Linked DNA regions of Homo sapiens: all the other regions are linked to region 4. The links are contacts of gene promoters, found by promoter capture Hi-C in blood cells and fetal thymus (Javierre and others, 2016). All regions are on one chromosome and are shown on one strand. The core of a region is centred on a gene start or on the middle of the fragment in contact, and the rest is flanking DNA. Distances in the headings are between cores, read along the strand shown.

Region 1 (3,506 bases), core at 710-3,209, 910 kb before region 4:
TCCAGTCATCTTTTAGTGCTTAAACTCAAACACACAGCCAGTAGTTTGCCAGATATTTAGGAAAAGACAGCAATTTAAACTAACAGAGAAAAGGAACTGGGAGGAAACCCAGACAATGCAGGGTTTAGAAGCAAACTTTTAAAAATGACAATATTCTCAAGAAGAAAACCAAATAGTTCGTATCCACAAAGCAAAAACAGAATGCTAAAAAAGAAACAAGGTGAAGGATGAGCTCTTGTGAATAAAATTAGGAATGCTGAAATTAAAATTTCAATAGAAGGATTTAATGAAAAATTAAGGAAGTATCTTAGTAAAATAAGAAGACAAAGTCATGGAAAATGGAAAAGATAAAATTAGAGAAAAAAAGTCTAGGATGTCCAACAGTTCACTAATCAAAGTCCCATAAACAAAGAAGAGAAAGAATAAAGGGGAGGAAATTATTAGCAAATAATACAAGAACATTTCCCAGAGCTAGAGGTCACCAGTCTTTAGATTAGAAAGATTCACTGAGTGCCCAGGAAAAATGAATGACAAAAAGTCCACAACGCGCCAGACACGGTGGCTCACACCTGTAATCTCAGCACTTTGGGAGGCCAAGGTGGGCAGATCACTGGAGATCAGGAGTTCGAGACCACCCTGGCCAACATGGTGAAACCACATCTCTACTAAAAATACCAAAATTAGCCGGGCGTAATGGCGTGAGCCTGTAGTCCCAGCTACCAGGGAGGCTGAGGCAGAAGAATCACTTGAATCTGGGAGGCAGAGATTGCAGTGAGCTGAGATCGTGCCACTGCACTCCAGCCTGGGCAACAGAACAAGAAGAAAGAAAGAAGGAAAGAGAGAGAGAGGGAGAAAGAGAGAGGGAAAGGAAAGGAAAGGAAAGGAAAGGAAAGGAAAGGAAAGGAAAGGAAAGGAAAGGAAAGGAAAGGAAAATCTATAACAGAGGCAAATCTTGATGAAATTTCAGAAAAACTGGGTTAAAGATAAGATCTTTAAAACTTCTAGATCGTAATGGCTATTATTAAAAGGAGGAAGGATAAGTGCTGGTGAGGATGTAGAGAAAAGGGAACCCTTATACATTGTTGGTGGGAATATAAATTAGTACAGCCATTATAAAAAACAGTATGGAGGTTCCTCAAAAAACTAAAAATAGAACTACTGTAGGATCCAGCAATCCCACTAGTCAGTATATATCCAAAGAAGTTGAAATCAATATGTCAAAGAAATATCTGCATTCCCATGTTCACTGAAGCATTATTCAGAATAGCCAAGATATGGTATCTACCTAAGTTTCTATCAATGGATGAATGGATAAAGAAAATGTGGTATAGATACATAATGTAATACCTTTCAGCCACTGAAGTTGGAGGAAATCCTGTTATCCTTGACAGCATAAATGAACCTGGAGGATGTATGCTAAGTAAAATAAGCCAGGCACAGAAAGACAAATACCATATGATCTCGCACATAGGTGGAATCTGAAAAAATCAAACTCATAGAAATAGAGAGTAGAATGGTGGTTACTAGAGGCTGGTATGAGGAGGGAATGGGGAGTTGTTGGACAAAGGGTATAAAGTTTCAGTTAGACAGGAGGAATAAGTTTCTGAGATCTGTTGTGCAGCAGTGTGAATATAATCAATAATAACATATTGTATGTTTCAAAATAGCTAAAAGAGTAAATCTCAATGGCTGACCACAAAAAATGGTGAGGTAATGGATATGTTAATTGGCTTTGATTAGTCATTCCACATTGTATGCATATATGAAAACATCACATTGCAACCCATTAATGTATACAACTATGATTTGTCAATTAAAAGTAATATTAACTTTTGTTTAAGCTTCTGGATTTTAAAACATAGGTTATATTCAAAAGATCTGGATTCAAAACGGCAGTGAACGTCTCAACACAATAATGGAAGCCAGGAGACAATGAAGTCATGCCTTCAAAATTTATTTCCAACCTATCAAGTGTGAAAATTAACTTGAAATATTTTTAGGCAAAAAGTTCTTGAAAATTTACTTCCCATGTACTCTTTCTTAAGAAACTACAGGAGCGTTTGTTTGAAAAGCTTAAGGGAATCAAGTGGTACAGGAAGGGGAAATCCAGGCAGAGCCCAATGAGTTCCCTAAAATTAAGGAGACAGAGCTGAGAATCCAAGTGGACGAAGTTGGCTGGAGTTCACAGGACATAGTACCAGAGAGGAAAAAGCTGCAGAGAGAATTCTAGAGACCTTCAGAGTTTCCCTCTAGTAGTCAACAGAATACTGATCAACAAATGCATGCGAGGAAACTGCATAATGCTGGGGAAAGAGCCACCCAAAAAGATAAGAGGGAACAATCCCTGGTACTCACATAGGTCTAGCAATAGTGTGTGTTCCTACCAGCTAAACTGGAAAATCTCATGACTCACAGGACACTGGAATAGAGTACTCAGAAGGGTTTTGCCTCAGTAGTGGAGAAAAATTGTCTCTAGACTAAACATTGCTCTGATCTCACCTATCAAATCTGAAAACCAAGACTTGAAAGGATCAAGCTGTTTTCAAGTAACTTAACTGTGTCTCAGAACAAAGTTTAAGAATATTTATAGGAATACAAAAATATACAGCATCCCGAAAGAGAAAATTAACAAGTCTGATATCCAGTAAAAAATTACCTGATAGGCAAAAAATCAAGAAAATACAATCCATAATGAGAAGAAAAGGCAACCAATTGAAACGGACCCAGATATGACACAGGTATTAGAATTAGCAAGCAAGGACATAAAAGCAATTATTTTAACTGTATTCCATATGTTCAGAAAGCTAGAGGAAAGGCTAAATATCTTTTTTTGTTTTCAGAGACAAGACATTGTCCTGTTGCCCAGGCTGGAGTGCAGTGGCAGCATCGTGACCCACTGTACCCTTGAACTCCTGGGCTCAGAAGATCCTCTTGCTTCAGCCTCCCAAGTAGCTAGGACTACAGGCACATGTCACCAGATGCAGGCTTTTTTTTTTTTTTTTTTAGATGGAATCTCGCTATGTTGCCCAGGCTGGTCTCAAGTGATCTTCCCACCTCAGCCTCCCAGAGTGCTGTGATTAAAGGTGTGAGCCACCACACCCAGCCTGAATATCTTGAGATATGGAAGACATTTTTTAAAAGACCCAAATCAAACTAGAGATGAAAGTTATAATATCTAAGATAAAAAATACACTGGAGGGGTTAACAGCAGATTAGGTATCACAGAAGAAAAGGCTAGTGAACTTGAAGATATATCAATAGAAGCTATCCAAAATGAAACACACTTGCATGTGTTTTCACAATGGCAAAAAAATAAAAAGACTGCAAAACAAAAATAGAGCATTGGTAAGCTATAGGACAATTTCAGACAGCCAAATATACATGTAATTGGAATCCCGAATAGAGAGGAAGGAAGTGGCATAAAAATATTTGTAGAAGTAGTGGCAGAAAAAAAGTCCAAATTTGCAGAAGTTAATTGATACTGTCTAAAGTTGAAAAAAATTAAA
Region 2 (4,080 bases), core at 42-2,541, 890 kb before region 4:
TGTTTGAGGAGTGCTACAAAAGAGGTTTATCACGTAAAAAGGATAATCTTTGGGTGCTTATAAGATGGGGATTTAACCAACAGTTGTCAAGTGGGGAGCTTAGATGGTCAAGGAAGGCTTCCTAAGGATGTGATATTTTTAAGGAATGAATGAGAGTTAGCTAGAGGAAGGGGAGATTCACAGCAGAGAAGACGAAGACAGCAAAAAGGTCTGGGAGACCATGCTAGAGAGGTAGGTAGGGGCCAGATCATAATGGGTTTTAAAGGCAGTGGGGGAACCATTAAAGGGTTTGTGGTAGGGAGTGACATGACAGGTTTTGCATTTTACAAGTTCATTTCCACAGCAATGTGGAAAATGGATAGGAGGGGAACAGGATGGGCCAGAGAGACCAGTTAGAAACTGCAGTTTCCAAAATGATTGTGGCATGGCCATGGCTGCTACCTTCAGGAAGCTTCTAGTCCAACCAAGGAAACAGCCTGTAACCAAGAAATTCCTTCATGGAAGAGCAAGCAGTCTAATAGAGGTTTGCACAGGCTGTTCCACCCAAGTTCATGTGACTAGTGGGTGACAGAGCCAGCAGCAGAACCCAGGTTTCCTGATTTCTAGTCTAGGGCTTTTTCCAAGGCCATCCTTTTCACTGCCTTCACAACCAAGGAATTATGGAAAGGGAGGAGAACAAAGCAAGCCAGTGAATGTTTCCGCCTTCTTAAGTCTCAGATCAGATTGTGGGGAGCATTTAGCCACTCTCTGTACTCAAGTCTGACATAAGCACTCCTCCCAAGACATTTGTTTCTGAGGGATGGATTCACCATCGTGATACTCCCTGTATATATACAGAGCAAGGAATTTCTACTGGGAGGGCCAGGGAAATTTGAACTCTCATAGCTAAGGTCGAAAAGGGCATTGTTATGAGAAAGAGGTCATTCTTTCTGAGACAGGGAACTCTGGATGACAAAAGGGAAAAAATCTGATTCCAGGCAGACAGAAAACAGTCTGATTCCAGCCCAACAGAAGAAGCAAGGGCCCAAGTAGAAGAGTGAAAATAGCTGAAGAAGAGCCTATGTTGCTTCTAAGCTGAGGGAGTAGAGAAATAGGAAGTACCAGGAAAGAGCCTGAAAGACAAGGACCAGAGGAATTCTGTTTGTAAGCATCAGAGGGAAGGGAAGCCTCAGAATAATAACCAACGCTGAACTCTGTGACTGGGCAACAAAGAGGTCTTGAGAACATATTTCCAGAGGTCTCAACTACCTTGTGAGTCAAGAAATAAACAAAGGGGTTTCTACGGGGAAAACCCCAAGGGGGTCAGAGGCCCTGATTAGGATGGGCTGGGCGCAGTGGTTCACACCTGTAATCCCAGCACTTTGGGAGGCTAAGGCGGGCAGATCACTTGAGGTCTGTTTTAGGCTCAGCCTGACCAACATGGTGAAACCCTATCTTTATTAAAAATACAAAAAATAGCCAGGCATGGTGGCGCATGCCTGTAATCTCAGCTACTCGGGAGTCTGAGGCAGGAGAATCACTTGAACCTGAGAGGCGGAGGTTGCAATGAGCTGAGATTGCGCCACTGCATTCCAGCCTGGGTGACAAGGTGAGACTCTTTCTCAAAAAAAAAAAAAAAAAAAGGTATAAAACAAACAGGAGGATGGAGCCAAGATGGCCGAATAGGAACAGCTCCAGTCTACAGCTCCCAGCGTGTGTGACGCAGAAGACGGGTGATTTCTGCATTTCCAACTGAGGTACTGGGTTCATCTCACTGGGGAGTCTCAGAAAGAGGGTGCAGGACAGTGGGTGCAGCGCACCGAGCGTGAGCCGAAGCAGGGTGAGGCATCGCCTCACCCAGGAAGCTCAAGGGGTCAGGGAATTCCCTTTCCTAGTCAAAGAAACGGGTGAGAGACAGCACCTGGAAAACTGGGTCACTCCCACCCTAACACTGTGCTTTTCCAATGGTCTTAGCAAACGGCACACCAGATTATATCCTGCGCCTGGCTCAGAGGGACCTAATCCCACAGAGCCTCGCTAATTGCTAGCACAGCACTCTGAGATCAAACTGCAAGGTGGCAGCAAGGCTGGGGGAGGGGCACCCACCATTGCCGAGGCTTGAGTAGGTAAACAAAGCAGCTGGGAAGCTTGAACTGGGTGGAGCCCACCGCAGCTCAAGGAGGCCTGCCTGCCTCTGTAGACTCCATCTCTGGGGGCAGGGCATAGCCAAACAAAAGGCAGCAGAAAACTCTGCAGACTTAAATGTCCCTGTCTGACAGCTTTGAAGAGAGGAGTGGTTCTCCCAGCACACAGCTGGAGATCTGAGAACAGACAGACTGCCTCTTCAAGTGGATCCCTAACCCCCGAGTAGCCTAACTGGGAGGCACCCCCCAGTAGGGGCAGACTGATACCTCACAAGGCCGGGTACTCCTCTGAGACAAAACTTCCAGAGGAAAGATCAGGCAGCAACATCTGCTGTTCACCAATATCCACTGTTCTGCAGCCTCTGCTGCTGATACCCAGGCAAACAGGGTCTGGAGTGGACCTCCCACAAACTCCAACAGGCCTGCAGCTAAGGGTCCTGACTGTAAGAAGGAAAACTAATAAACAGAAAGGACATCCACACCAAAACCCCATCTGTACGTCACCATCATCAAAGACAAAAGGAAGATAAAACCACAAAGATAGGGAAAAAACAGAGCAGAAAAACTGGAAACTCTAAAAATCAGAGCGCCTTTCCTCCTCCAAAGGAACGCAGCTCCTCACCAGCAACAGAACAAAGCTGGATGGAGAAAGAATTTGATGAGTTGAGAGAAGAAAGCTTCAGATGATCAAACTACTCCGAGCTAAAGGAGGAAGTTCGAATCCAAGGCAAAGAAGTTAAAAACCTTGAAAAAAAATTACATGAATGGCTAACTAGAATAACCAATGCAGAGAAGTCCTTAAAGGACCTGATGGAGCTGAAAACCATGGCACGAGAACTATGTGATGAATGCACAAGCCTCAGTAGCTGATTCGATCAACTGGAAGAAAGGGTGTCAGTGATGGAAGATGAAATGAATGAAATGAAGTGAGAAGAGAAGTTTAGAGAAAAAAGAAAAAAAAGAAATGAACGAAGCCTCCAAAAAATATGAGACTATGTGAAAAGACCAAATCTACGTCTGATTGGTGTACCTGAAAGTGACGGGGAGAATGGAACCAAGTTGGAAAACACTTTGCAGGATATTATCCAGGAGAAATTCCCCAATCCAGCAAGGCAGGCCAACATTCAGATTCAGGAAATACAGAGAATGCCACAAAGATACCCTCGAGAAGAGCAACTCCAAGACACATAATTGTCAGATTCACCAAAGTTGAAATGAAGGAAAAAATGTTAAGGGCAGCCAGAGAGAAAGGCCGGGTCCCACAAAGGGAAGCCCATCAGACTAACAGCGGATCTCTCGGCAGAAACTCTACAAGCCAGAAGAGAGTGGGGGCCAATATTCAACATTCTTAAAGAAAAGAATTTTCAACCCAGAATTTCATATCCAGCCAAACTAAGCTTCATAAGTGAAGGAGAAATAAAAGCCTTTACAGATGAGCAAATGCTGAGAGATTGTGTCACCACCAGGCCTGCCCTAAAAGAGCTCCTGAAGGAAGCACTAAACATGGAAAGGAATAACCGGTACCAGCCACTGCAAAATCATGCCAAATTGTAAAGACCATTGAGGCTAGGAAGAAACTGCATCAACTAACGAGCAAAATAACCAGCTAACATCATAATGACAGGATCAAATTCACACATAACAATATTAACCTTAAATGTAAATGGGCTAAATGCTCCAATTAAAAGACACAGACTGGCAAATTGGATAAAGAGTCAAGACCCATCAGTGTGCTGTATTCAGGAAACCCATCTCAAGTGCAGAGACACACATAGGCTCAAAATAAAGGGATGGAGGAAGATCTCCCAAGCAAATGGAAAACAAAAAAAGGCAGGGTCTGCAATCCTAGCCTCTGATAAAACAGACTTTAAACCAACAAAAAGATCAAAAGAGACAAAGAAGGCCATTACATAATGGTAAAGGGATCAATTCAACAAGAAGAGCTAACTATCCTAAA
Region 3 (3,661 bases), core at 610-3,109, 860 kb before region 4:
TATGAAATAGATAGACAGATGCATAGCACGTGCAGAGGCATTATGATGCATGCTCTGGAGAGATTATCATCACAAAGAAAGGCTTGCCCAAATATTGCTCTAGTATCACACCACATCATTCCCACATGGGCACACGCTCACATAATACTGGTTTTCTGGTTTTCTGTCCTTACCCAGACCATAAGCACAATAATCAGCGACTTGCAAAACACTGCACATGGAGCCATGGGTTGTTAGTTTTGCCCATCTTTTTTAATACAGCATAGTCATTAAGAGCAAGGACCTCAGTAAAATTGGATGCAAACTCTTAATTTGCCACCTGTGATTTTATACAAATAAGTTACCCCTGTGTGCTTCAGTTACCCCATCTGTAAAATGAGAATGAGAATCATATGTACTTCATTGGGTTATTGTGTGGATTAAATGAGCTAATGTATTTAAAGCTCTTAGGAATAATTAAGAGTTCTTAGGACTGGCTGAGATAGGGTAAACTTGGATTCAAGATTTGATTTAGGTGAGAGGAGAGGTAGTGAGAATAGACAGAGGCATTGGATTCTCTTTCTGTCTTGAGGTAGTAAATAGCTGATTTCCTGGCTGTATGTGTACTTCTAAGTAATCATTCCATCAAAAGACACCATTAATAATAGCAATGCATTCACTCTTTTTTGAGGAAATCTATATATTTGCAGTCATTGTGGTATTATATTTGTTATTTATATCCTGTTTTAAATGTGCAAACATTAATTATACTTTTGAGAGTACATCTTTACTGTCAAACTCTTAGTAACTGTTAAGAAACCCTGTGTCTCATGGAGACTACTTTTACCCTGAAACATGGTCATGTACAGCCCTAGAATGAGGACCCATCCCGGCAGTCTCAGCAAGAAAATATGGGTCCCAGCGTAAACTCTATGGCTGAGGACAGTGTTGATACCTGGAGCTGCCCACACTATTTCCACCCCTCATGGCACAAAAATAATCTGAGCAAGTAAATGCCTAATTGTGGGTATTATTGCTTCCTTCTGCCAACTCTAGGCAACTCCCTCTCCTCTGTACCCCATGAAGGGCTGTCAGAATATGGAGAGCTGCTCTGGGCTATTAAAGGTAGGCCAATGGCAGGAGTACATAAGAGGCTTACCACAGATTCAGGAACGCCAGGCCCCCAAACAGACCATATGTTTTTCTAGAGCTAGAGCTATTTAGTGGAGAAAAACAAAGGGTTTTCTGGAGCTGCCTCCTACCTATCTGAGCACAAATGAATCGGTGGCAAGTAAACCAACAACTTCTCCACTAGGCTGCACAATGCAATGGAAAGAACATAGACTTTGGAGTGAGAGAAATGTAGAACTGCATCCCAGCTTACTTATGTGTGACCTTGAGTAAGGCATCTAATATCTCTGGCCTTCAAGTTCCTCACTTGAAAAATGGGAATATTAACCAGCTGTATCACAGGATTGTCATAAACACTAAGTGAGATTAGAAATGATGTCTCTAGCACAGTGCCCAGAACAAATTATTCAAGTAAGATTCTCTTCCTCCCAATCCTTGCTTACCGTACCACAGAGCTGGACTCCTCTAGACAGGCAGAGACAGTAAGGACATCTCAATGGCTGTGTGCCTATCTGCTGTGGTGATAGTTGTTTTGGTTTCAAGTCTGGGTTTTTAAAACATTTGTTTAGTTTTAGTTGGGTTGATGGCAGGAGAGATTAGAGGTAAAAGTGGAACTAGAAACATTTCAAGGTATAGGATAAGCTTGATAGAGCCTTAGCTGAATTATTAAGATTCCATTAACTTTCCAAGAGCACACTGGAAATGGGGAATTTGGGTGGATTGTGAAAATAGTGGAGCAAACAAGAGGAGCCAAAATTAAGCAAGTCTTCTGGTCATTTAGTGAGTGACCTGGAATTTGAACACAGAAATGAGAACTAGAGGAGGGATGGGAAACGGGACTGTAAGATAAGCTTCACTGTGCCAAAGGAAAAGTGCAAAAGTGGGATGAAAGTGCATTCCTATGTGAACTGTTTCGGCTATGAAGACATGACCACACCTGAAAGCTTACCTGCCCTATAGATGTGAGGGAGGAGGGCGAGGAAAACAATATTAATCCTAACTAATTTTATCCTTAAACCCTGTCATGTGTTAATACCCTCCAAGTATTTCAACTGCAACATTTAATGTCTTCAAAAATGTTACTTTACTGACATAAATGAAGAATTGTCACAAAGTATTTTTTAAAAAGGATTGAATGCATTAGGTCTCTGAAAAATTATAAAGCACTTTCTTTTCTAGTATAAAAATAGGCTATGACCACACACTGGATTGCACAGTTAACTTAGGTTTTTCATCTATATTAAATGTCAATCGTTATATTCTTAATAAGATTGAATGTAATACTCTGAATTAGTCACTACAGTAGTATAAATGAATAGATTGACTGGATCACTGAACTTATTTTCCATTTTTCATGGAAACAATTTTCTCCATCTATAATTCCACAGTGGTTTCAAACTAGGTATTTCATTTTCACAAGACACTAGCAGTTCAAATCTTTCTCAGGAGCTCTTAAGTCTGCTCCCCTTGCTCTTCCATCTCTAACAAAAATATTCACAGAACATTTTTGCTAATAAACATTTTAAATCGCAAATACAAAATTATAGAACTCTCTCTTTTTAAAATTACTAGAGATGAAAGCATGTGACCCTCCCTAAAACTTTTCTTTTGGCTTTGCTTAAAGGCAGTAATCAAGAAGAATTTGGGCAGGATAATGGGCAAATTTACTTAAGTATCAACACGAAGAATCTTTTGGATATTCTTGCAGAAGGGCAGTAAATGTTTCCTTACTAAATAAAATTTGTTTAAATTAGTAACTGCAAACTAGCAGCTTATTGAGCACAATAACCCTTTTTAGTCTATCACATCTGCAGAGTTACTGGTGGGCTAGGTGGAGTCACATGGCCAAGGTACCCAATATTTTTGCTGCTGCAATTTCATTACCACTCCCTCTTCCCAAGAAAAGTTTTAGTTGATATATGTAAAATTTGAAATTGGTTATGAGTATTTGGGAATGATTGTTCTCCCCACTCTCAGAGATAGTGATAAAAAGCTTTGGAAGTCCTGAGGTCAGGGCTAGGAATCTCTGGCAAAATGTGTAGTGCCCAAAATTACTACTACTAGTACTACTGCTACTAGCAACTGTTCCTGCTATTACACCTCCTCTTCCTCTTTCTCCTTCTTTCCCTCCTCCTCCTCCTCCTGCTACTATGACTAGTATTACCACCACCACCGTTTATTGAGCTTTGACTATATATGCCAGGCACAGTAGCAGGTACTTTACATGTATTGCCTTTCTCTTCAATGTATTATTAGTCCAAGTTTTATAGATGGTGAAACTGAGGCTCAGAAAAAGTATGTGTTCAAGGTTGCACAGCTAACATGACTCCTGTCTGTCCAACTCCAAAGCTGTCACAGCACACTGCCTCCCAGGACGTACATACCATTTTTAGGACAGGCAAGTTGTAGAAACTAAGGCTACAGTGTCCTGGGTTGGAGATAAAGCTGGACACCAAGTCAGGGAGGGAAGGGAAGCATATGTGGATGAACGCAGTGGATCTAGTGATTCCTACTGTTAACTCACCAGTAGCAGAATAATACACAAACAGAG
Region 4 (3,609 bases), core at 370-2,869:
GGCACTAATCCCATCATGAGGGTTCCACCCTTATGACCTAATTACTTGGCAAAGGCCCCAACTCCTAATCCCAATACCTAATACCATCATATTGGGAGTTAGGATTTCAACATACAAATTTTGGCGGGGCACAAATGTTCAGTCCATTGCAGCAGGTGTGGCAGTCTTGATAATTACTGCATCTGAGTAATAAGTACATGGGATTCATTATATTGTTTTCTGTACTTTTGTGTATTTTAAAAAATTGAAGAAAAGATAACTAAAAAACAGACAAATGTAAAGCACCCAATGGGGGTAAAAAATGATGCTCAAAGGACATAAACAGGCATTTGTAGAAGAGGAGATGCAAATGTATACTAAACATTTGAAAAGATATTCAGCCTTACTGGTAGTCAGGAAAATGCAAATTAAAACAATAAGGAGATACTATTTTTTATTGAAAAGACTATCAAAAAGTTAAAAGATTGGGACCATCTAGTGCTATGAACATGACAAAAGAGCACTGATTGTTGCTGGGAGGGCAAATTGCCTATCTTACAGTATTTATTAAGATTAAACCATGCACATGCTATTAGATGCAGCAGTCTCATCTTTTGGAATTCATTCTGTGGAGATAACAGTATCAGAAATTAATGACCTGTACACGAGTGTGTGAAGGAGCATTTTTTGTATTGTCAAAATTAAAAAAAGAGGACAACCTAAATTACCATAAAGGAATGGTCAAATAAATTATAGTTCATTCATGCCATAGAACATTACATATGTTTTTAATGAATCTGTTTTTCTATTATCAGTGTATATTTATAGTATATTAGAAAACACAGGTAAGAAAAAAGGAAAAAGTGTCTAGTTCCAGACCCAGAGATATCATCTTGGTGTATATCAAGTGGTTTTCGTTGTGTGTGTGTGTGTGTATATATATATGTATGTATGTATGTGTATATGTGTGTATGCATGCATATATATATATGTATATATGTATACATATATATTTGTTTTTCCAATAGAAAAGGCATCATGCGTTCCACAATATGTTGTAACTCCTTGTTTTCTTCATTCCTTCATGAATATTTTTCTACATCAACACATACTTATCTACAAACATGGCCTTCAAGAACTGGATGGTATTTCATTTTATGCATACTTCATAACTCGACCAATCCCCTACTTGGCGGTATTTAAGTGAATCCAATTTCTCCTTTTAGAAACACCGTCCCTGCATGCTAGCAAGACTTTGGAGATAGTTTGCTAATTGCCTTCCAGAAAGTTCTGGGTGCTTCTGGAGGCATTTGAGGCAGAGTAGGTAGAATGTTTTCCCATCAGGCGAGCTTGCTATCTTCCCAGATAGCAACACTGTAGTCTTTAGAACTTGAAAGACTTGTCTTATCTTGCCTGTTAGTCATGCAGCCTAAGCGGGACTAGGTTCCAGAAATCCCATACATGCTCTCCCTCCTCTTGCTTCATTCACGCCCCTCCCCACGCGCCACCCCCGCCCCCCGCGCTTTCCCGCTCGGCGGCCTGGCCTATGGCATACGCCAATAATTAATTAGGGGCGGGGATCAAGGAGCGGCTGTCAGGAGGTCGCCATATTTCTGTACGGCCCAGAGGCAGCCCGGGCAGTCGCCGGGTCGGTAGAGGTGCTGACAGGGCGGAGCCGCCGCTTGCCTCAGCCGGCCTCACCCCTCCCGCCCGGGACAGGTGGCTGGAGCGCGCTCCGCCTCCGCCAGCTGCGAGTGGGAGCGAGGGAGGGCCGGTCCCGGACGGTCGCCGCCAGCTGCGAGTGGAAGTGAGCGAGGGCTAGTCCCGGACCGCCGGGCCAGGGGTCCGGCGGCAGCAGACGGGTACCGTGGCGGCCAAAAAAATGCTCCTGTACCGAGGGGCCCCCGCCGGCCCTGGCGCGCCGGGCTGCGGGCTGGCCCGGCCCGGCGGCGGCCCGCAGGCCTTCGGGATCCGCCTGAGCACGGTAGGTCCGGGGCCCGAGGGGGCGGACGCGCGCGCGGGCCCCTGGGCTGCGGGGGGCGCGCGGGGAGGGCCCGGCGGGCCGAGGCCTCACGCGGGTCGGGACCTTCTCTCGCCCCCAGATGAGCCCCCGCTACCTCCAGAGCAACTCCAGCAGCCACACGCGACCCTTCAGTGCCATCGCGGAGCTGCTAGGTGAGTGGCGAGGGCGGGCCCGGCCGTGTTCGCCCGAGGCAGTGGTGCCAGCGTGGTGCCGCGGACGCGAGAGGAATGCGCAGAGCCGCGCGGGGCGGGCCGGGGCTGGGGTGGGGGCCTCGGAACCGGCCCCGGCTCCGCAGGCGGAGGAGGGGGATGGCTCTCTCGCCAGGAACTAGGTTCCGCTCATAAAACGGAGGAAACGAGGTGTGTCTGAAGCGTTAAAGACACCAGTGTGGTTTTTCTCTCGCGCTCGTGACGTTCGGGCACTTTAGGATAGCTTAGTTAGTAATCAAAAGGAGATGCATAAAAACCTCGGGCCCTGAGGCAGCTGGGTCCGCAGGGGCTGGCGACCGACGGAGGATGCCTAGCTAGCAAAGGGGCGTAGAGGACCGAGGCGGGTCCTGGGGAAAGGTCTGGAAAGCGGAGTTCCTTAACTTTTGAGACAAGAAAAGTTAGGAATGATGGGACATCTCTTAAGAGATGACACGAGTGCATTTGGCTCCCTGCTACTGCGGAGGGCTGGGTCCGTGGTCCACGAGCGCCCTCACACCGCTGGAATGAATATTGAGGACTTAACCTCTCGCTCCACCGGTGTTTGCTTTTAAAGTGTTTTCAGTTGATCCCTTCAAGCCAATTACACCAGTTTTTGCAGTAGTGTGCTACTGTGTGGAAAGCAAAGAAGAAACGCAGTCCTGCACAAAACGCAGCAGCATACAGGGCGCATTATACATGCTTTGAAAATCGAAAGAAGGAAGAAGTGTTTATGGGCAAGGTTGCACAGAACAAACTCTTGAAAATGTTTTCAAAGCTCCCCAAATGAACCCCGGTCTCTACTTAAGCAGTCGCTGTGGCCATGCCATGAGAGTTATCTTGGGTAAGAAGTCAATGGGTAGCAGGGGACTTACTTGGAAGGGTGATAAGAATGATAGAGACCTTTGATGATTAACCATAACACGGAATGCTTTACAATATGTGTAATTTAATTAGAAGGTGAAAGGCAAAAAGTGGAATTGATACGTTTGGAACCCTAGAGCAGAGGGACTGTATCTTTGAGGTTTGGTACTGTGCCTTGGGGCTGTGCACTGAACCTCTGCAGAATGGAATACAATCCAAGTTAAGTATGTAATTTACAAGAAAGACTACAAGGGAGCAAAAAGTAGTGATTTACATAGTGGGGGATGGGAAAGCGAAATGTATTGTTCTCTCATGGTTGGCACGGTGCAGAACGTGATATACCTGTGCTGTGCTTACTGTACTTTCCAGGTGATTTAATGAGTTTCCAATTTGTAATTTTGGATATTTGTGATTTTGGCCATAAGCATTACCTTAAAGAACCTAAGCCGGATCTAAGACGTCCAGTATGAGCGCGAGTATGTGTATGTATTATGCACACACATGCATGCATACATGTATACAAACATAGATTTTAAGACCAAATAACAACTATTTGTG
Region 5 (3,935 bases), core at 500-2,999, 800 kb before region 4:
TACCCACATTGTATCTTGGAGGTAATTAACTTTTTTTTTTTTTTTTTTTTTTTTTACAGGCTCATAGGTAGAAGGGACTTATCTTGTCTCAGATGAGATTTTGGACTGTGGACTTTTGAGTTAATACTGAAGTGAGTTAAGACTGGGGGACTATTCAGAAAGGATGATTGTATTTTGCAATGTGAGAAGGACATGAGATTTGGGAGGAGCCAGGAGTGGAATGACATGGTTTGGATTTGTGTCCTGTCCAAATCTCATGTCTAATTGGAGGAGAGGACTGGTTGGAGGTGACTGGATCATGGGGGTGGATTTCCCCCATGCTGTTCTTGTGATAGTGAGTTATCCTGAGATCTGATGGTTTAAAAGTGTGTGGCACTTCCCCCTTTGCTCTCTCACTCTCTCTCCTGCCCACCATGGTAAGATGTGCTTACTTCCCCTTCACCTTCTGCCATGATTGTAAGTTTCGTGAGGACTCTCAGTCATGCCTCCTGTTAAGCCTATAGAACTGTGAGTCAATTAAACCTTTTTGCTTCATAAATTACCCAGTCTCAGGTAGTTCTTTACAGCAGTGTGAAAATGGACTAATATAGAAGTAAATCACAAAAGGGATAAACACAGGATCCATGAAATAGTCAGTCCAATTCAGGACTATAGTGAAGAAAAATCTCTGGATGGAAACTGTTGTCTAGGGAGTGGTTTGCAGCCAGTTGTGATTTTGCCTCCCCACTGGCCTGCCAGAAACAACTGGTAATGTCTGGAGACATTTTTGGTTGTCACAAGTTGAAGTGTGTGTGCGCGCACAAATGCGTGCTACTGTATTTAATGGGTATATGAGGCCAAGGATACTGAATTCTACAATGCACTACACAGCCTTCCACAACAAATAATTCTCTGGTCCAAAACATCAGTAGGGCTGAGATTGAGAAATCCTGGTCTAGAGAGTAACAAATCCAAACTGGAATAGGAGGACAGACAGACCATGGAGAGGAAAGTAGAATTGTCGGGTGCAGTGGCTGACGCCTGTAATCCCAGCACTTTGGGAGGCCAAGGCGGGTGGATCAGGAGGTCAGGAGTTTGAGACCAGCCTGGCCAATATGGTGAAACCCCGTCTCTACTAAAAAAAATACAAAAATGAGCTGCGTGTGGTGGCACACACCTGTAGTCCCAGCTACTCGGGAGGCTGAGGCAGGAGAATCGCTTGAACCCAGGAGACAGAGTTTGCAGTGAGCCAAGATTGTGCCACTGAACTCCAGCCTGGGCGACAGAGTGAGACTTCAAAAAAGAAAAAAGTAGGAGAATATCCATGGAAAGCTTAATTTTTTACAGAGTTTGAAGGAAATTAAGGGGTGCAATAAAGGCAAATATAAGAAAGAGAGAATGGTAAATAAAAATTCCAGCAGAAAAGATATAGATGTTGGACTCTCCCTGGCTTTGCAAGGAACTTTATTTATTTATTTATTTACTTATTTTTGAAATAGGGTCTCACTCTGCCACCCAGGCTGGAGTGCAGTGGAACAATCTCAGTTCACTGCGACCTCCGCCTCCTGGGCTCAGGAGGGATCACTATCCTACCATCTCAGCCTCCTGAGTAGCTGGGACCACGGGCACATGCCACCATGCCCAGCAATTTTTGTATTTTTGGCAAAGACAGGGTTTCACCATGTTGCCCTGGCCAGTCTTGAACTCCTGACCTCAAGTGATCTGCCTACCTCAGTCTCCCAAAATTCTGGGATTACAAGCATAAGCCACTGCGCCTGACCAGGGAACAATATTTATATAGTCACAGTAATAAAATACTCTTTACTAATTGTAAACTTTTGGAATTAACTGAAAGACAGAGCACGGACAACTTTATCAAGTTTGACAATGTAAAAACAGAAATATAGATGAAAAAAGCTAGAAAGTAGAAGGGGGAGGAAGAAAGATGAAGAAAAGGCAAAAGGACATTAACATCTTCATCTTACAAAGTGGGAAGTACTATATGGTGGAGCAAAACAAAAATGGGGTTATATTTGTATATATTAAAGTTATAGGAGAACCTGTAGTAAACTGTATAACTCATCACTAATATTCAGGATCTCTTCCTACAGATCCTTCTCCACTCCCTCAGAATCAGTTTTGACAACATGTTTTGAGAATGGAAATGTGAGCAAAAGTGACGGATATCATTTCTGGGTGGAAGCTTGAGGAGCCAGGACATGATTTGTCACTCTGTTTTTCCCTCTGTCATCATCATTCCAGATAGTGGGTATACTATTAGCCTAGGCCCCAGAAGGAGGACAATCATGGCATGGAGCAGACCCCGGCACCATGTAATCAGCAATGGGAATGTAGTGGGAGGAACAGAACTTAGTAATTTTAAGCACTAAAATTTTTCGATTTTTTATTACTGCAGTATAACCTAAGTTATGCTATGTAACAGTAAAGAAAGTAAGTACAGATGCTCATTGACTTATGATGGGGTTACATCCTAATAAGCTTATTGTATATATTAAGTTGAAAATGCATTTAATACATCTAACCTCTCAAATATAGCATAGCACAACCTATCTTAAACATTTTACATTAGCCTACACTTGGGCAAAATCATCTAACCCAAAGCCTATTTTATAATAAAGTGTTAAGTATCTCATGCAATTTGTTGAATACTATACTGAAAGTCAAAAACGAAATAGTTGTATGGGTACCTGAAGCATGGTTTCTACTGAATGCACATCACTTTTATACCATTGTAAAGTCCAAACATTGTAAGCCAAGCCATTGTAACTCAGGAACCCTCTGTAAAGTGTTGTGAACTATATTGAGAGGATGGAGAGTAGAGAAGTGCAAATGGGGGTGTAAGTGAGCTAAATCCTCATCTCTGAAAGTAGGAAGTCAGTACGTAGCGTTTAAAAAGAAAGTAAGTAGTCATGTTATTTGGAGATATGGAGGAAACTACCAAGAAACAAACAAACCAAAAACTAATAAAAATAATTAAGCGTTATCGTCCAGGGAATAGGCGTAGGATAGGAAGAGGTGGGGCAGGAGGATTTTTGTTTTTATTACAAATTCTTCCAGACTTTTCTATGGTTTCAAATAATAGTGCTTGTGTTTCTCTTGATAACTTTTTAAAATTTCCACTTATTTGACTGTATTTTATGCAAGCTCTAAAAAAAATTATAATTTTGGGCTGCAGGAACATGGCCATAGAATCCAACAGAAATCTTCTTAAAAGGGAAGTTGTGCTTTGGTTGACTCTGATCTTACATACCTAATTTGTTCCCGAAGAACACTTCACTTTGGACCACCTAACAGTCAAACTGGTAATCTGAAAAGCATCTTCAAAATTCAGACAAAAACAAATGGATTTTTTTTGTTTCTGCTATTTAACAAATTTTCAGAGAAAAAAATACATCAACAAGTAAGGTAATTTAAACTTGGAATTGGCTATTTGCAGACTTGAGGTTGGTCTATAACACACTTTTCAAGGGGTTAGAGTTAAAACTTTTTCTCTATGGATTGTTCTAGATCTGAGTCTGTCTTCCAAAGCCTCCTCTACCAGAATGAAAATCTTCACGAAACTCATCCCTTACCTGACCCCCAGATTTACCGCGACCATACTGTTGACCCTCTCTAAAACCGACATCCCAATCAGTGCAGATAATCCATTCATCTAGGCAGGTCCCAGTTAGAAACCGCATGGCATTTTCAGCATCAGCTCTGTTATGGCATTCTACAAAGCAAAAACCACATGCTGTTTTCTTTATTTTATCCAGGCCCATAAAGATATTCCTGATATCAGATCTACTAAAGAGTTCATGTATTTTCTCTTCGGTTGTATAAAAGGAAAGATTCCCCATATTCAATGTGGAGCTTTCCTTCAGTAATTTTTCCTGCTGAAATTTACGGCCACTGAACTGATGGTCCCGGTAGCAGCTCAGCTCCAAAGCAGGGTC
Region 6 (3,695 bases), core at 987-3,486, 840 kb before region 4:
CTTATGTACTCAGGTTCTATTTGGAGTGGTAATTTTACTATCCGTTTAAACATTTTATTTTTCTAGAATATCTGCTAAGTAGCTCCCTTCTTAAGAGAAATTATACAACATAGCAGACAAGCAATGGGAATAAAACAATTCGCTGGATCATCAGTGTAAGGTAGGAGGACTTTTTATGGGCACTTAGACTTGTACATACATATTATATGACACAACAACTTTAGAAAACTCTGTCCATTGAATACACATAAATGACTAGGAACTTGTAAGGCAGGAACTATAAACAAATGCTTCAGTTTGTAGCCCATAATAGTGAGCACTGTCACAAAATTTGATACTGGATAAAATATTTATTGCCTTCAGTTTAAATTGTTCATTCAGATATTTAATTATCCCTCCCAATTTCGTGGTATACTGAAGTTTCTTCAGTTCTTTGTTTTGTTTTGTTTTGTTTTGTTTTTAAAGGCAGGCTTAGAATTAGCCCTATGTTAAAGGCTTAATGGCAATTTGTAATGGCCAATGCCAAACTTTTGTTTCTTTAGTGTATTGAGTACACAAACACAAACATACAATAATGTCCTCCACAAAAATCTCTCACCTACCTAGATACACTCAGCCACCTCCACCCACACCTACACAGAGACACACCCTGCCTTCCCATTGCCATATACCTACATATGCAAATCGACACATATGCTAATTGTAGTACACGTACACAAGTACTCACATACTTAAAAGAAGAGGTGGAAAGATCATAGCAAAGATATATAATAAGCAATATGTCACTGACAGAAGATAGAGGGTGTGTTTCCCTGGATGAACTACTGGTGTTGCAGGCCATGAGCTGACTCCCCAAAAGTTAGCCAGAAGTGTGTGACTGCAAGAATGTTTATGCAACAGATGAGATAGGCTCCAGGAAGAGCTTGCAGGAGAGCAGGTTATTCCTCATGAGAACAACTTAAAGTTAACTCACTTGTCATATAGGAAAAGTCACCTATTTTATTAGAGAACTTGCTAACTGCATTTATGCGACAAAGTTGTATAGGGGATGCTCCCCAGATCCCTTACCTTGAGTTTCTCAAATCGATCATTCAGGGATGCGACCTGATGGTCTCGGTGACGACCCACCAGTTTGCATAAGGCACAGATCAATTGGTCATCAGATACACAGTACATGTTCACTTTCTCATTCTCATGGTCCAGGCAGGTGATCCCTCGAAGATGTGTGTCTGGCACTGGTTCCACCAGGCGGTGGCTGGTGAAAGGTTTCTTGTTGGGGTGCGTGGCCCGCAGGCAACGGTCACAGTAGGAGACCTCACAGGTGATGCATGTTTTTACTGCATCCCTTGGCGGGTCCTGCTCACAGAATTGGCAAGCAATTCGCTCGCTAGACATGGCAGTGGTGGGCCTGTAAGTCCTTTCCCGGCGGCTCTCACTAGGGGAATTGGGCCCACTGACTGAAGCCTTCTGGAAGCGATCAATAATGTTCTGCAGAGTCACATTCCTCTTGAGGCCATCCAGGCCCCGGTGGTTCAGCGAGATAACATACCTGCAGGTAGGACACTGGAAAGCAGTAATGGGTTCAATGGATTCACCAGAGCTGCAGCTTGATACCAAAATGCGATGGGCACAGCTGAAGCAGAGGCTGTGAGCACAAGGGAGCAGAAGGGGGTCTTCAAACAACTCTAGGCAGATTGGACAGGTCAATTCAGACTCCAGTGTTTCCATCTTTAGTGAAAATAGTCCTCCTGAGGCATTAAGAACCACGGAGGCTGGGCTTTCACCTGCAAGGAATACAAAGCAAGAGTCATTAGGCATTTCCAAAGGAAAATGGATATAACACAATTATACACTAACCAATGGGCGCGTTTACGTGCTGGATTCCCCAGAGATGCTTAAGCAATAGAAAAGCAATTTGGGAACTAATCAGGAAGACTTTCTTCCCCTTCAAACCTTGTTTTAGACAAATGCCTATGTTTATTTTCATGCACAAATAGATAAAACCAAATGGCCACCTCTGAATCCTGATAGACTGATTAACATTACCATTCCAGCTCACAATATTTGCATGGATCATTCTCTCACATATTCTCCACTGACATCTCTTTTCCTAGACTAAGATAAGGCTGAGACCCTGCAAAATTCCCAATCTCTATTCTCCAATATTGTTCTCTATTTCACTTCAAGGTAAACTGTAGGGCTGCTTCTATGTGACATCCAGTGTAAGGAAAACAATGCCATATTTTAAAGTAACTCTCTACTTCCTGAAATGATTCCATTCTGAAAGCCTGCATAAAAAAGAGAGAGCTTTAGAAAAATGTAGCCCTTGGTGCAGGATAATAAGTTTTTCCTCAGAGTGTGAACTTGAATTACTTCTTATTATCACACATGGAAATTTCCGTTCCATTCTATTCCTAGTAAACTGAGTTACTTGAGATAAAAGATGATAGTTTTCACTTTCATCTTCTTCCCTCACCTTCAGAAACCCCTTCAGTTCATCAAGCTGAATGGGGAATGATTTCAAACTTTTCAACCTACTCAGCAATAGTTGCTGATCAATAATAAAGTCATATTGCCTTGTGGCTTCAGTTTGGTTTCATTACTAAACACCTGCTGAACTAGCACAAGCCAGCTATGAAGCTCACCTCCCATGTGTCTTTTCATACTTTCTAAAACATAACAGGATGCAAATCAATATCTAGATAGAAATTAGCAAAGTTCCAGAAATTTTAAGATCTGGTAACCTTCAATTTAGTGAGCATCAGTGAGTAAAAGAGGTCACCCGGCCGGGCACAGTGGCTCACGCCTGTAATCCCAGCACTTTGGGAGGCCAAGGTGGGTGGATCACGAGGTTAGGAGGTCCAGACCTTCCTGGCCAATATGGTGAAACCCTGTCTCTACTAAAAATGCAAAAATTAGCTGGGCGTGGTGGCGCTTGCCTGTGGTCCCAGCTACTCGGGAGGCTGAACCAGAAGTATCGCTTGAACCTGGGAGGTGGAGGTTGCAGTAAGCCGAGATCATGCCACTGCACTCTTGCCTGGGTGACAGAGTGAGACTGCCAAAAAAAAAAAAAACAAACAAAACAAACAAAAAAAGCCACCCAACTGACAAGAAACCAACCTCTTGGTAACTCTATCTATTTTTCCACAGGCATTTCTGTGCTGAACACACAGGTACCTAATTCTTAATTGCCTAGAGTCTTCCATTAATTAAAATACACACACATAAATATTCTAAGTTGTCTTTAACTAAGGAAAAATATAAAACATATCTTACTGACTGAAAATGTTAATCCTATGTATAGGAAAGAAAAAGGGCATCTTTCTTGCTTTTTTTTTTAACAAGGTGTCCCTCTGTCATTCAGGGTGGAGTGCAGTGGTACAATCTTGGCTAACTGCAACGTCCACCTCCTGGGCTCAAGCGATCCTCCTGCTTCAGCCTCCTGGGCTCCGCCTCCTGGAACTCCAGGGGTATGCCACCAAGCCCAGCTAATTTTTGTTTATATTTTTTGTAGAGACGTGGTTTTGCCATGTTGCCCAGGCTGATCTTGAACTCCTGGGCTCAAGCAATCTGCCCACCACAGCCTCCCAAAGTGCTGGGATTACAGGAGTGAGCCACAGAGCCAAGCCCAAGAAAAGCATTGTTTGCTTTTGAGTAGCTTTTGTTTATTATCTTGTCATCATTGGAGACTCTCA
Region 7 (3,662 bases), core at 894-3,393, 980 kb before region 4:
GAAACAAACAAAAAAAATAAGAGATATCTTTAGAGGTACTTGTTAGCACCTTGCTGATGTAATAAATTATTTCAATTCATTCAATAATTAATATATTGGGTGCTTACCACTGTGCTAGATGCTGAAAACACAAAGATAATTAAGACACAGACTAAACCCTCCAGGAATCCCCAGTTGATGGAGAAAAATGACGAGAAAATCACAGATTACAATACAGTGTGAAAAGTACCGTCAGACATATGCACAAGTTGTTATGGGGACACAAAAAGGTTGCACAATTCAGCCTAGCTTGAGGTGGGGTCTGGAGAATCAGGAAATACAAGAGGAAGAAATGTTTGAGCACTGTCATGAAAAGGGAATAGAAACTGTATAGGAGTTAGGTGAATGAAAAGAATGGGAGTGGAGAGAGCAGGAGGGGATGAGGAGAAATCCGTGCATGCACAGAGGAGCCTGTGCAAGGGCCACAGAGGAAGAGAGAAGATGCTTCGTTTGAAAAACTAAAAATTACTTGCTATGGCCTATCTAAAAGACTATATAACTATTAAGAGGGATTATCACCCAGGTTGAAGGAAGGGTAGGATTATAGAAGTACTTTCCAAGCACTTAAAAATTATTTACAATGATCAGCTGTTACTGGGAGAAACATTTTTTTTCAATTTTGAAAAACATAACACGTTTATTATAAACAATTTTACAATAGAGAAAAATGTCAAGAATATTTTTTAAAGTACTGTATTCCTATTACCCAAAGATAACCACTGTTAAAGTGTTAGTATATAACTTTCCAGATTTGTGATGTATGCATACATATAGTTAGTTATATGCTCTTTGTAACAAGCGAAATTAGAGAAAAATGTATTTTAAAGTTAAAAACTTTTTTTCTAACCTCCAGTCCAACCCCACTTCCCAGAGATAATTAATGTTGAGTCTGCTATATATCCTCTCTCATTCTGTTCTCCAAGATTATAGAAACATACAAACATATGCAAACACACACATACACACAAATACGGGATCATAGAAAACATTACTCCTACAACTTTACATGCCCTTTTGTCATTGGCCATCATCATAGATCCATAGGTAGAAACAGATTCAGTTACAGTACAATGTCATGTAATACGTAGCAACGCTGGACTCAACCTGAGATTTGTCTGATTTATCTTGTGGGTCTCAGAAAGTCATTCAAGGTTTTCTTGTTTTTGTGTTTGTTTGTTTGAGACAGAGTCTCACTCTGTCACCCAGGCTACAGTGCAGTGGTGCGATCTCGGCTCACTGCAACCTCCGCCTCGTGGGTTCAAGCGATTCTCCTGCCTCAGCCTCCCGAGTAGCTGGGACTACATGCGCGTGCCACCACATCTGGCTAATTTTTTGTAATTTTAGTAGAGACGGGGTTTCACCCTGTTAGCCAGGATGGTCTCGATCTTCTGACCTCGTGATCCGCCCATCTCGGTCTCCCAAAGTACTGGGATTACAGGCATGAGCCACCGCGCCCGGCCGAAGGTTTTAAGAGACATATTCATATCCCTCTGATGGAAGATCTCTGATATTTCATGTTTTGGTAAAAAGGTGTATTTATGCTACTCCTAACTCTCTTTCTCCCACAGTTGCTTCAAGATTCAAGGCGTTTCAGTAGGGGAGGAGTGGGAGAAGGGGTGATGGGAGGAGTGTGGGGAAAGAGGAGCTAAGGGAGGAAAGGCAGGCCAGGATTTGTTAGGGTGTCTGGGATGTTTAGTCCTGAGCAAACAGGGGATAAGCTCCGCTCCTGGCTCCACCCTCTTCCTCCAAGGGCAACTGAGGGGTTGGGGCTGTTTCCTGCTCTAGAATATTCCAGTTGGGGGCGAAACTCCCCTGGCATGGCACAAACCATTATGATGGGGAGGGATAAGTCTTCAACTTGTTCACAAATACTTTTTTTGGTCCTAAGTCCTTCCGGACCACTCCTGTTTCTTTCAGCCTTCAAGGTCTCCCGACCATGTGGCAGGTTCCCTTTTGTCCCAGTGGAATGGCAGAGGCCTTCCTCACTCACTCCCTTTCACCCCTACAGTCTCTGGAAATTGGAACAGTCCCAGAGTAAAATCCTCATGGGTTGGCCCTGAGGCTTCTTTTCCCGCAGAGCCCTAGGAGGGAAAGAGGCCACCCTCTCTTCAGGCGTGTTAAGCAGCGGGGTTGGCCTGTACTTCCTCTGGCCCTGGCTGAAGAGGTGAGGCCTGGTGGGAGATGTCCTAGGGTAGGACAAGCCGGTCAGAGGGTCATTAGGAGGGTCTTGTCAGAGGTGGGAGGGCGGAGAAGACAGATGAGGGGAGGGGCTAAGGAGGAGGAAAGAAACCTATTGGCTGCTCCATCCACACAGGGCTAGTGAAACCGTTAAGCCCCTAGGCGATCATGGCCTTGAGACCTGAGGACCCCAGTAGTGGGTTCCGGCACGGAAACGTGGTGGCCTTCATCATCGAGAAAATGGCCAGGCACACGAAAGGCCCCGAGTTCTACTTCGAGAATATATCCTTATCCTGGGAGGAGGTGGAAGACAAGCTCAGGGCCATCCTGGAGGACAGCGAGGTGCCCAGCGAGGTCAAAGAGGCCTGCACCTGGGGCAGCCTGGCCTTGGGTGTGCGCTTTGCCCACAGGCAGGGGCAGTTACAAAACCGCAGGGTGCAGTGGCTGCAAGGCTTTGCCAAACTGCACAGATCAGCTGCGCTGGTCTTGGCCTCAAACCTGACGGAACTCAAGGAACAGCAGGAGATGGAATGCAATGAGGCGACCTTCCAGTTGCAGCTAACCGAGACCAGCCTTGCGGAGGTGCAGAGAGAGCGGGACATGCTGAGATGGAAGCTCTTCCATGCCGTAAGATCCCCCGAATGGTCCCTGTCCAATGCCTCTGCCCTGCCCCAACCTGTCCGGACCCCCTGCCCTGTCCCCAGAATGTGTTTCAGCTCTGCCTACTTCTCTCCAGGAGCTGGCACCTCCCCAGGGACAGGGCCAGGCTACAGTGTTTCCAGGCCTGGCCACTGCCGGAGGGGATTGGACAGAAGGAGCAGGTGAGCAGGAAAAGGAGGCGGTGGCTGCTGCTGGTGCTGCTGGAGGAAAAGGAGAGGAGAGGTATGCAGAGGCAGGGCCTGCCCCCGCAGAGGTCTTGCAGGGGCTGGGAGGAGGCTTCAGGCAGCCCCTCGGAGCTATTGTAGCAGGCAAATTACACCTTTGCGGGGCAGAGGGAGAAAGATCTCAGGTCAGTACAAACAGCCATGTCTGTCTTCTCTGGGCTTGGGTCCACAGTCTCACTGGAGCCTCTTCCTGTCCAGCTCCCTACCTCATTCACATACTCATACCCATGCCCTTTGTCCGCCTTCTCAGCCATACCCAATATACCCCCTTCACCAGCAAAGGTCACAGAACGGGTTCCAACTCAGATGCCTTTCAACTGGGGGGCCTCTGATGCTAGCCTGTGGTCAGATGTGGAGGCCCAGGGAATAGACCCTCAAGAGCCCCCAAGAGACAGGAGAGACTCCGAACTCCATCAGCAGAGAAGACCTCCAGTATATCGCAGGCCAGGGAACTGGGACTGCCCGTGGTGTAAAGCTGTGAATTTTTCATGGAGGGAAAATTGCTTCCTCTGTGGGAGGCGAATCTGGCTGCAAAAGCCTCAGTAAATTCAGAAATGTAAA

The links. Contacts are between HindIII fragments. The CHiCAGO score rates a contact against its expected background, and 5 or more counts as called.
Region 1: a fragment that was not itself captured here is called in contact with the fragment with the promoter of MORC4 in region 4 in 1 of 17 cell types (total B cells); the score reaches 6.6 in total B cells.
Region 2: a fragment that was not itself captured here is called in contact with the fragment with the promoter of MORC4 in region 4 in 4 of 17 cell types (total B cells, total CD4 T cells, naive B cells and 1 more); the score reaches 11.6 in total B cells.
Region 3: a fragment that was not itself captured here is called in contact with the fragment with the promoter of MORC4 in region 4 in 4 of 17 cell types (non-activated CD4 T cells, naive B cells, total B cells and 1 more); the score reaches 7.0 in non-activated CD4 T cells.
Region 5: a fragment that was not itself captured here is called in contact with the fragment with the promoter of MORC4 in region 4 in 1 of 17 cell types (total B cells); the score reaches 9.7 in total B cells.
Region 6: a contact is called between a fragment that was not itself captured here and the fragment with the promoter of MORC4 in region 4, in 5 of 17 cell types (activated CD4 T cells, naive CD8 T cells, naive CD4 T cells and 2 more). The highest score is 7.1, in activated CD4 T cells.
Region 7: a contact is called between the fragment with the promoter of TEX13B here and the fragment with the promoter of MORC4 in region 4, in 1 of 17 cell types (total CD4 T cells). The highest score is 5.1, in total CD4 T cells.

What each region holds. Positions count from the first base shown.
Region 1 is chrX:107,908,195-107,911,700 of GRCh38, reverse strand. All of the region lies in intron 5 of MID2 (midline 2), which reads right to left. The region is part of intron 3 of LOC101928335 (a long non-coding RNA gene); the gene reads left to right. Among named protein-coding and RNA genes, the nearest start is that of TEX13B, 72 kb to the left of the region's middle. The HindIII fragment of the contact is 231 bases long and covers 1,844-2,074 here.
Region 2 is chrX:107,888,822-107,892,901 of GRCh38, reverse strand. The region is part of intron 3 of MID2 (midline 2); the gene reads right to left. Among named protein-coding and RNA genes, the nearest start is that of MID2, 65 kb to the right of the region's middle. The HindIII fragment of the contact is 1,675 bases long and covers 454-2,128 here.
Region 3 is chrX:107,861,746-107,865,406 of GRCh38, reverse strand. All of the region lies in intron 3 of MID2 (midline 2), which reads right to left. Among named protein-coding and RNA genes, the nearest start is that of MID2, 38 kb to the right of the region's middle. The HindIII fragment of the contact is 209 bases long and covers 1,755-1,963 here.
Region 4 is chrX:106,998,222-107,001,830 of GRCh38, reverse strand. It overlaps MORC4 (MORC family CW-type zinc finger 4), which reads left to right and starts at 1,619. Exons shown (of 17, transcript NM_024657.5): 1 at 1,619-1,963; 2 at 2,082-2,154. The coding sequence starts at 1,862. RefSeq lists silencers at 1,555-1,634, 1,645-1,854. The HindIII fragment of the contact is 4,977 bases long and covers 1-3,609 here.
Region 5 is chrX:107,794,251-107,798,185 of GRCh38, reverse strand. It overlaps NCBP2L (nuclear cap binding protein subunit 2 like), which reads right to left. Exons shown (of 2, transcript NM_001348372.2): 2 at 2,357-3,935. The coding sequence ends at 3,504. Among named protein-coding and RNA genes, the nearest start is that of NCBP2L, 18 kb to the right of the region's middle. The HindIII fragment of the contact is 871 bases long and covers 1,314-2,184 here.
Region 6 is chrX:107,838,759-107,842,453 of GRCh38, reverse strand. MID2 (midline 2) reads right to left here. Exons shown (of 10, transcript NM_012216.4): 2 at 1,069-1,784. Among named protein-coding and RNA genes, the nearest start is that of MID2, 15 kb to the right of the region's middle. The HindIII fragment of the contact is 6,166 bases long and covers 1-3,695 here.
Region 7 is chrX:107,980,851-107,984,512 of GRCh38, reverse strand. It overlaps TEX13B (testis expressed 13B), which reads left to right and starts at 2,143. Exons shown (of 3, transcript NM_031273.2): 1 at 2,143-2,203; 2 at 2,354-2,844; 3 at 2,954-3,649. The coding sequence starts at 2,386. The coding sequence ends at 3,433. It also overlaps the pseudogene LOC112267910 and the pseudogene NLRP3P1. The HindIII fragment of the contact is 6,409 bases long and covers 1-3,662 here.